Linked DNA regions of Homo sapiens: regions 1 and 2 are each linked to region 3. The links are contacts of gene promoters, found by promoter capture Hi-C in blood cells and fetal thymus (Javierre and others, 2016). All regions are on one chromosome and are shown on one strand. The core of a region is centred on a gene start or on the middle of the fragment in contact, and the rest is flanking DNA. Distances in the headings are between cores, read along the strand shown. Region 1 overlaps PSMC6 (proteasome 26S subunit, ATPase 6). Region 2 holds the start of ERO1A (endoplasmic reticulum oxidoreductase 1 alpha). Region 3 holds the start of NEMF (nuclear export mediator factor).

Region 1 (3,299 bases), core at 98-2,597, 2.9 Mb before region 3:
ATGAAGAACACAAAATATTACCCAAAGATGAAGATTTAACAAAATTAATAATTTTTACTGTTTCACCAAGGACTTTATAGTGAAACTGACTTTTTTTTTTTTTACACTGCAAGTATGTGGCAGTCAAGAACGCAATGGCTACTAACTAGCACCGTTTCATGCCACTAATGCTGATTCACACTACAGTGCAAGTAATTTAATTTTACCCATGGTGCTCTTGCACCATCAGCACAAATGTCAACACAGTGGAAGAGCCAAACAACATTTTAGTTTTTTGTTTTGTGTCATTGTGGGGCTACATATGTCAAGCAGTATGCTATAGGTACATTTGCTTTATATAAAAAAATTTTTTTTTTTTTTTTTTTTTTTGAGAAGGAGTCTCACTCTGTCAGCCAGGCTGGAGTGCAGTGGGGCAATCTCGGCTCACTGCAACCTCTGCCTCCCAGGTTCAAGCAATTCTCCTGCCTCAGCTTCCCGAGTAGCTGGGATTACAGGTGCACGCCACCACGCCTGGCTCATTTTTGTATTTTTAGTAGAGACAGGGTTTCATCATGTTGGTTGGCCAGGCTGCTCTCAAACTCCTGACCTCTGGTGATCTGCCTGCCTCGGCCTCCCGAAGTGCTGGGATTACAGGTGTGAGCCACTGCGCCTGGCTTAACATTTCAGTATTATAAAGTAGTTTTGACCTTACAGAGTCCATGAAAGCACCTCTGGGTCTGTGAACCACAATTTGAGGACTGTTGCACTAGAATCACATGGCCTGTTAAGATAAATGTACTGTGAGGCACAAATGCACTAAGCATGCCTCAAAGAACAGTAGACATAAATATCCTATCTCATTCTCACTCTGAAGAGAGGAGAAGTTGGAACTGCCCACATCAAATTTCCACCTTATGGCCAGGCGCAGTGGTTTATGCTTGTAATCCCAACATTTTGGGAGGCTAAGGTGGGCAGATCGCTTGAGTCCAGGAGTTTGAGATAGCCTGAGCAATATGGCAAAATTGCTTCTCTACAAAACATACAAAAATTAACCAGACATGGTGATGCACGCCTGCAGTCCCAGCTACGTGGGAGACTGAGGTGGGAGAATCACTTGAGCCCGGAAGGCAGAGGTTGCAGTTAGCCCAGATTGTGCCACTGCACTACAGCCTGGGCAACAGAGTGAGACCGTGTCTCAAAAAAATAAAAATAAAAAAATTGTCTTTTTTTTTTTAATTCCTTAATTCATTTATCTTATTGGTGGAGTAGAAATAATTCAATACCAACCTGGTGGTCCATATAACAAACAGCCTTTTGGAGGTATTATTCCTACACGCTGAAATAACTCTGGGTTTGTAAGAGGTAATTCTATCACCTAGAAAAGAAGTTAAATCTTTCTTAAAAAGTTAGTCAAGATTTTTAATGTACTTTCAAATACTCTAAGTCAAATATCACCTTAGTTAGGTGTACACATCATAATTCTTAATAGACCTAGACTTCCATGCTAGGTAAAACCATTTATATTAAGAGGTTTTGCTCCAGGTAGATTTAAGATCTCTTAAATCTAAAAAATTTCAAATAATGTTTTTTAAATAAACCACACACTTGATTGGGGTGATGGTTACACAGATATATAACTTGTCCAAACATATTTGAAATGTACACTTAAGAATCTACATTTTTTTAATGTAATTATACCTCAATGAAAAATTATACCACAAAAAAATCAGTTAAGTCAAATGAACATATAAACAAAAAACACAACTCAAAAGATCTATACTAGTTTGCATTTGAAAATACAACACAAAATAATTCTAAAATGGGGGATGGATTTGACAACATACCAAGAGAAAAGGTATATACAATTTTTATCTGTTGGCATTTTGCCACGGCAGCTTTTAAAGAACAGTATGTTCTGCTCTCAAGACTGATTCAAGGAAGAAAAGTAGAGACTAGAGAAATTGAAGATCTGAAAGTCCAATTTAAATTACTTATAGTACCAGTAACTTAAGAGAGAAATTTCTTTTTTTTTGAGACAGAGTCTGTTGCCCAGGCTGGAGTGCAATGGCATGATCTTGGCTCATTGCAACCTCTGCCTCCCGGGTACAAGAGATTCTCCTGTCTCAGCCTCCTGAGTAGCTGGGACTACAGGCGCCACCACCACACCTGGCTAATTTTTGTACTTTTAGAAGAGATGGGGTTTCACTGTATTGGCAGGCTGGTCTTGAACTCCTGACCTCAGATGATCCACCCACCTCAGCCTCCCAGAGTGCTGGGATTACAGGCGTGAGCCACCATGCCTGACCGAGAGAGAAATTTCTATTGAATAGTTGTGTTGGGCTAGGTGCGGTGGCTCACGCCTGTAAATCCCAACACTTTGGGAGGCCAAGGCTGGAGGATGGCTTGAGTTCAGGAGTTCGAGAAGAGCCTGGACAACATGGTGAAACCCCATCTCTACAAAAAATAAAAAAATTAGTCACATGTGGTGGCGCATGCCTTCAGCTACTTGGGAGGGTGAGGTGAGAGGATGACTTCAGCCTGGGAGGTAGAGGTTGCAGTGAGCTGAGACTGCACCACTGCATTCCAGCCTGGGCAAAAGAACCAGACCCTGTCTCAAAAGAAAAAAAAAAGTTGTGTCCATATGTGCATAAAGCGTGACTGGGAAAAGCCAGAAGTGAGAGAAATCAATACTCTAAAGTGTAAAGTATCTGCAGACAGTAAAGGATACTGCATGTATACATGGGATTCTTTCTGCTCCTATGGCTAATGCAGCAAATCACTGTTGAAAGCAAGTTTTCACCGTTTTATGAAGCACCTGTTCTTCCTCTGTTGCCCTTTCATTAATACAGGTGAGAACTGCCTTTTTTTTTTACACTTAGACCAGTGCTTCCTCAAGTATTGTCAAAGAAAAATTTGGTTTCATAATCACTTGGAATGCTTGTTTAAATGCTAATTCCTGTGCCTACCCCCAATCTAGTCCATCAAAACCACTCAGAGGGCCTAGTAATGTGTATTTTTAATAAGTGTTCCAAAAAAAATTAATGTACTGAAGTATGAGAACTGGCTTAAAGCTTAAATCAGATTGTGTAAGACATTCCAATTATTCCCATTAATTCCTAAATATTCACAGCCTAATTTAGGATAAAATCCATAGGACAATGTAATTTGCTTTACAGATAACAGTTAAGAAGCTGTCTGTGCTATGAAGTAAGGCAATCCTGATTTGACTGTTCACCTAAAAGCTTACAAGATTTAAGACAATCCTAAAGCCAGTGGTTTTCTGGAATGGCAGCAAACAGCTTTAACAAAATAAAATATTT
Region 2 (3,168 bases), core at 170-2,669, 2.8 Mb before region 3:
GCTAGAGACCAGCCTGGCCAACATGGCAAAACCCCTTCTCTACTGAAAATACAAAAATTAGCCGAGTGTGTGGTGGCTTACGCCTGTAATCCCAGCTACTGGGGAAGCTCAGGCAGGAGAATCTCTTGAACCTGGGAGGCAGAGATTGCAGTAAGCCAAGATGACGCCACTGCACTCCAGCCTGGGCGACAGAGCGAGACTCCGCCTCGAAAAAAAAAAAAAAAGTAATCCCAGCACTTTGGGAGGCTGAGGCGGGAGAATCGCTCTTGAGGAGTTTGAGACCAGCCTGGGCAACATGGTGAAACCTCGTTTCTACTAAAAATAAAATTAGCCAGGCGTGGTGGCGCACGCCTGTAGTTCATGCTACTCAGGAGGCTTAGGTGGGAGGATCGCTTGAGCCCAGGAGTTCGAGGTTGCAGTGAGCTGCGATCGCATCATTGCAGGCCAGCCTGGGTGACCCAGGGAGACCCTGTCTGGAAAAAAAAAAAGCGGATAGACTAGTCCCAACTCTGAATGTTAAAAGACCAGGACTGGGTATCAGAGGACCTCCAATCCTTGCTCACCTTACCTCACTTCTCTAGGCCTGTTTCTTCCTATGATATGAGCGGGTGGCTTCCACCCTCGCTGTCTAATACAGTGGGCACTAGCCAGCCACATTTGACTATGAAATGGGTCTAGTTCGCATCGAATACACACTGGATTTCAAAGACAAAAAAAGTCAAATATCTTATGAATAAATTTAATGTTGGTTATATTTTGAAATAATATTTTGCACATTCGGGGTTAAATAAAAATATTTTAAAAATAAAATGTACCTGTTATTTTTACTCTTTTGCTGTGGCTACTAAAAATATAAATGACATATGCTGCCCTGGTCTAGATGCTCTCTAATATCCCTTTCAGCTTTAAGACTCCGCCGGGAACACGGTGGACACGTAATTCGTACGATTTGATTGTCTCGCATTGAGATACGGAAGGATTGGCCGGGAGTGAGCGGGCTGGGGCTGGGCGGGGCGGCGCGGGGCGGGCACCCCCCGCCCCCCAACCCCGCAGGAAAACACAGGCCCCTCCGGCTTTCGCTCTCGCTCTGGGAACTGGAAGGACCCCCGACTCCCGCGCAGGGTCTGGGGTTGTGCGCGTCGGGTTGCGTCTCCAGGCCGGGGGCGTCAGGGAGCCGGGGGCGGGGACGGGCGCGGGCGCAGCGGACCGGGCGGGGCCGAGCCGGGAAGCTGGTCGGTGCGTCAGCCTCACGCGGCGGGAAGGAACCGGTCCGAGGCCCCGGGCTGCCGGCGCGGGCGCCGCGGCACGTCCACAGGCTGGGTCGCGAGGTGGCGATCGCTGAGAGGCAGGAGGGCCGAGGCGGGCCTGGGAGGCGGCCCGGAGGTGGGGCGCCGCTGGGGCCGGCCCGCACGGGCTTCATCTGAGGGCGCACGGCCCGCGACCGAGCGTGCGGACTGGCCTCCCAAGCGTGGGGCGACAAGCTGCCGGAGCTGCAATGGGCCGCGGCTGGGGATTCTTGTTTGGCCTCCTGGGCGCCGTGTGGCTGCTCAGCTCGGGCCACGGAGAGGAGCAGCCCCCGGAGACAGCGGCACAGAGGTGCTTCTGCCAGGTGAGCGATGTGCGCGTTGGTGCTGAGGGTCCCGGCGCCCTCCGCGGCGTGCACTGTCCCGCACGCCCTGGCGGGTGAGCGGCTGGGGGTGCGTCCTTGCATCTCTTCCCACCGGGAATGAGACTCCGGTGCTGCTGCCCGGTGGCCGGGACTGAGTCTGGCTTGGCGTGGACCGGGCCTCCACGGCAGCCTGGACGTCGCCGCGCCCTCCGGTGCCTCGGACCAGGAGAGGGGTTGGGTGCACGCGGTTGAGTGGGTTTATGCATCTTTGTTGGTCTTATCTGCCCGGGGAGAGTGTGCACAGTGTATAATGCCCTGCCAGTATTTGCTATTTTCACAGAACCTGGATCTTTCTCACTTCTCTCTTGACCAGGAACTTGTGTACCCAGTACCTGTGCTGCGTGCATTTCGCCAGCCTTTCTGGCTAAGACGTTTGTGGGCTGATCTCAGATTTCGATGTTAGGCGGAAGAATGGCTGCTTGCGGTTTTTCTGTGTGTAAGCCCAACTACCTGATGTCTTTGGGACTGCAGTTGCCCTCTGGTTTCTGGTCCTGTGTGCTCTTTTTCTCGAATGTAATGAGATTCTCTTATCGTGACACCCGTTAAGCTGGTACGAATTGGGAGGAAGGTCCTTATTCTTCAGTGCACAAGTTTAATTACAAGCGGATTATGATCATTTCCTTCTGTAAGAGATGTGGTTTCTTGAGCAAAAAATTGAGAGAAACTTACAGTTTTCCATTATCTTCAGTATCTAGTATTTCAATGTGATTACTCTTGTCAAAGCCACTTTTTGGTTGACTCTGTTGATAAAAATTACGTTTTATACAAAATTAAGGGTTAGGCATCCATGTTATTCCTAAGTGGATTTTGCTATTAATTTATTATCAGAAATACCATTTTATGTGTTTAGGGGCATGATACCATGTCAAAGGAAAGATGCATTTAAATATTATGAAAGGTTTCTCTTTCACTACTTTACATTCTTGGATTTTGTTGTTTTGCTGAGTGATTTGGGAGTTGAGGTGAGTGTTATCTAGGAAACTAAGGGAAGTTGAAAGAAAATTGCTACTTTACAACTGAGACATTGAAAAGTCCTTTACCTTCAATCATTACAAAGGACACACAATCAAGTACTTAAAAGGAAAAGGGTCATTTTTCTTCTGATTAGAAATATAACGCAACACCGAGATTAAACATTTAAAAAATAAGATAGAAATAAGTGACTTTAAAATAAAATATTCTTTACGGAAAGAAGATGTCCAATGTAACATTTTCAGCTACATTCTGGAGATTTGGATACTGGAATAAAAGTACATGTTGAACTCTTCAACTTTTACTTTTTTTTTCCTTAATAACCTTTTTGGAGTTCTGCTTAAAATAGAACTTTAAATTCTTTGCATTTATTTTCTTTTTCTTCTAACTAGTGATTAAACTTTTCCTCTTTCACAATACCCTCATATTCAAATACTTCCCTAACATAAAATTCTGTTAAACCCCTTTCTTTTTCTTTTAGAACGAGAGTGGCTATCTGTGTTTCTTTTCAGACTCAACCTTGAAAA
Region 3 (3,684 bases), core at 67-2,566:
GGTTTACTGTACCGTATGACAGTAATGCTGTGCAGTATGTGCTATAGCCATTTTTGCATCTACTGGTACCAGTTCTGAAATAGCAGCGGCGCCCTTTCTGTTTAGAGTCGCCTTCTGGTGGTAGGAATTCTGGTTGCTACCATGTGTAGCCTGCAAGCCTCTAGCAGCTCTTTTGCAGCGACGCCGAGCGCCGGGCGCGGTGGCGCGTGCCTGTAGTCCCAGCTACTCGGGAGGCTGAGGCTGGAGGATCCCTTGAGTTCAGGAGTTCTGGGCTGTAGTGCGCTATGCCGATCGGGTGTCCGCACTGAGTTCGGCATCAATATGGTGACCTCCCGGGAGCGGGGGACCACCAGGTTGCCTAAGGAGGGGTGAACCGGCCCAGGTCGGAAACGGAGCAGGTCAAAACTCCCGTGCTGATCAGTAGTGGGATTGCGCCTGTGAATAGCCACTGCACTCCAGCCTGGGCAACATAGTGAGACCCTGCCTCTTTTGAGTTCTCACCTTATAAAGTAGCCTTTCTTCCCATGCATCTATCCTAAGACAAAAGAAATGCAGAATTTACATTCTTACAGGACTATTTTCCTCACTACACTGTGAATCCCCCCTCCCACCCCACCCCCATTGGGAATCTTCTTGTTTTTATTTTTATCTTATTTCACCATTATCTAGCTAAACACTTGCACATTCATGCTGCCAAGTGTTTATGGAGCACCGATTGTACACCAGGTACTGCGGTGAGTCTCAGGGGTACCAAGACCGAGGTTCGATGAGAATCCTGTAATCAATTGCAGAATGCTCCTTCCGAGAGCAGGACCCATCAAAATAGGAACTCCGTTTTGAGAGTTCGCCTCGATCGTTGAGGATAATCTTAGAAGGACCGAAGCAGTTCCGTTTCGTTACATTTCAAAATCTTATGTCAAAGTAAGCGCGCAGAAAGGGGTCCTTGCTCTTCTACACTGAGCCCTACGGCCCCCCTGTGGGGAAATACTCCTGATAATCATCTCGAAAATTGTTTCGACCAGCAGGGGTCACTATGAAGGCTGACTTGAGCCCAAGACACAATGGGGCACGGTAACCAGACTGGTCCGTAAGGGTTCCAGGAAGGAATGCAGTTTCAAGAGAACAGTTTGAATCTTTATTCGAATTTGAATTTTGGTACAATGAAGAGAGTCAGCTGCAACTTGACAATCGAAATCTTCAGAAAAGCGACACAAATACGTTCGCCTCGAGGAATATTGGGTCTTCTGCGCGGCCGTAGAGCTCCGCCAAGTGCGCCTGCGCGGAGGAGAAGTGGCGTCGAGTCCGGCCGGGCAGTAGAGGAACTTGCGGTAGTGACCCTCGGGCCTCGCCATGAAGAGCCGCTTTAGCACCATTGACCTCCGCGCCGTACTCGCGGAGCTGAATGCTAGGTACAGTACCCTAAGTGACGAGGCTCGTGTGGGGAGTGCAGGAGGCAGAGGCCGGAGTCCCATGGCGCAAACAGACCAGCTTGATATGTTTCCTTATTTCCTAGTGCGTCTATGGACCTGCCTAGGCCTGAGTGGGCAGGCGTGTGGTGTCTTTCCCGTGACCCTTAGGATACCCCTGGGGGTCCCAGGCACCTCGTGCCCCATCCCCCGCGTCCTCCCAGCTCTCTGGCTTGCCCCGCTAGCGCGAAGCTCTTGCATTGTTGGCCTGGGTTGTCCGGGTTGGGCAGGAAACGTTTGTTAAAACACGAGACGCCAGAGTGGTCGTTTGCTTCAGAGGTTTCCAGACTGGGGGCTTGGTTTCTTGAACACCTCCCTCCCCTCACCCCAGAGAGAGAGAGAGCATCGCGGTTTTAGCTGGATTGAGCAGATTTGGACTGAGATCTGGATTCTAGTCTGGATTCTATTATTCAGCCCTGTGAGCTTTGTCATATTTTCGGGGCCCTCTTTTATCTTTTTTTTTTCTCCCTTGTAATAAATTAATTGGATTATATTTTACTGTATTTCTCCCCCAAAATTGGGTCATTTGGAAGACGCAAGCTATAGTGTGTTGTTCCTAGAGCTGATAGACCACTTCTGTTTTTAAATCGTTACTCTTAAGTTTTGAACTGAATCTCCAAATGGCTTTCAGACTCTGCTCCTCGGCTGACTCCATATCCTTAGAGACTGAGATCCGCTCTTTCGAAGCTTTTATTAAATTATGTGTAGTTTTATGTTTCAGACAATAGTGTAACATGTTACATGTTTCCTTTATCTTTGCAGCTTGCTAGGAATGAGAGTAAACAATGTTTATGATGTGGATAATAAGACATACCTTATTCGTCTTCAAAAGTAAGAACATTTTATAGGCTTATTTTCTCTTTGACAATTAAGTATGAGATTACTGATTTTTTTTAACCTACATTTTAAGCCTGTTTAGCAATTAGCTTTGGCATATACCCTAAAGAAAAATTCGACTTTTTTCTTCTACAGACCGGACTTTAAAGCTACACTTTTACTTGAATCTGGCATACGAATTCATACAACAGAATTTGAGTGGCCTAAGAATATGATGCCGTCTAGTTTTGCCATGAAGGTAAACTTGTTACGCTTGAAGCTAAATTTTAAGAGATTGCTCACTAACAATTAAGTTTTTAATTGGGGTTTCCTTCACTGTTACGAATAAAGTGCAGATAAAATGAAGGTAAAGGGAGTGGTTGACAGATAATGGGTTGAATAAAGTGAATATTTATTAATTGATTTCTCCCCATTACCTTTCACATCCTGTTCTGCTCCAGATCTTCTGTTTCCACAGTCACTATTAGAGTTCAAGCTTTTATCACATTCAGCCTTACAGTTCCTTAACTGTAATTCACTTCTCTGCATCAAAACAATTCTAAATTAGACCAACGTTAATTTTTTTGTTTTTGTTTGTTTGTTTTTTTGTTCGTTTTTGAGAAGGAGTCTCGCTCTGTCACCCAGGCTGGAGTGCAGTGGCACAGTCTTGGCTCACTGCAACCTCTGCCTCCCAGGTTCAAGTGATTCTCTTGCCTCAGCCTCCTCAGTAGCTGGGATTACAGGCGTGTGCCACCAGACCCGGCTAATTTCTCTATTTTTAGTAGAGATGGGGTTTCACCATGTTGGCCAGTCTGATCTCAAATGCGTGACCTCAGGTGATCCGCCAGCCTCAGCCTCCTGAAGTGCTGGGATTACAGGCATGAGCCACCGCGCCTGGCCCAACATTAATTTTTTTAAAGTATAATTTTCATTAGTTACCTCACCTTTTATGGTTTCCTGATTTCTAAATCCATATTCTATAGCCTAACATTCTTGGCTTTCTGTGTTCTTTCTCCTCCCTGCCCCACCTTTTTTTCCTAGTCTTATCTTCCAGAGCTCACTTTTGTGAGTCGTATTCCTCTGTACCCAGTCAGTATTTTTTTTTTTTTGGAATACTCACTGACATTAATATGTTACTAAGTCTTTTTATTTTTCTGTTTTGTTTTTACTATTAAAACAGATTTTTACATGGGTGGGCATGCTACCCATTCTTTTATTGATGTAACATATAGATTGAAAATTCATGTGGTACACGAGACTTTCGAGTCACATATACTTAACTTTGAATTAATAGCTTTGTCAGAAAGTAATTTTATAACCTGGAAAAGTTACTTAACCTCTTGGAATTTAGTTTCTTTAAATGTAAAATGTGGATAGTACCTCCTTCATGAAATTATTGGAT

Evidence for each region. The method cuts DNA at HindIII sites, captures the fragments that hold promoters and counts their contacts. A CHiCAGO score of 5 or more calls a contact.
Region 1: a contact is called between a fragment that was not itself captured here and the fragment with the promoter of NEMF in region 3, in 1 of 17 cell types (neutrophils). The highest score is 5.0, in neutrophils.
Region 2: the fragment with the promoter of ERO1A here is called in contact with the fragment with the promoter of NEMF in region 3 in 1 of 17 cell types (neutrophils); the score reaches 6.0 in neutrophils.

The regions. Positions count from the first base shown.
Region 1 is chr14:52,711,936-52,715,234 of GRCh38, reverse strand. PSMC6 (proteasome 26S subunit, ATPase 6) reads right to left here. Exons shown (of 14, transcript NM_002806.5): 7 at 1,267-1,354. Among named protein-coding and RNA genes, the nearest start is that of PSMC6, 6.4 kb to the right of the region's middle. The HindIII fragment of the contact is 3,410 bases long and covers 1-3,052 here.
Region 2 is chr14:52,693,809-52,696,976 of GRCh38, reverse strand. It overlaps ERO1A (endoplasmic reticulum oxidoreductase 1 alpha), which reads left to right and starts at 1,419. Exons shown (of 16, transcript NM_014584.3): 1 at 1,419-1,609. The coding sequence starts at 1,496. RefSeq lists a silencer at 948-1,487 and enhancers at 1,738-1,787, 1,393-1,894. The HindIII fragment of the contact is 13,242 bases long and covers 1-3,168 here.
Region 3 is chr14:49,850,420-49,854,103 of GRCh38, reverse strand. It overlaps NEMF (nuclear export mediator factor), which reads left to right and starts at 1,316. Exons shown (of 33, transcript NM_004713.6): 1 at 1,316-1,409; 2 at 2,229-2,297; 3 at 2,439-2,541. The coding sequence starts at 1,351. It also overlaps RN7SL3. RefSeq lists a silencer at 207-266 and an enhancer at 1,070-1,309. The HindIII fragment of the contact is 4,280 bases long and covers 1-2,155 here.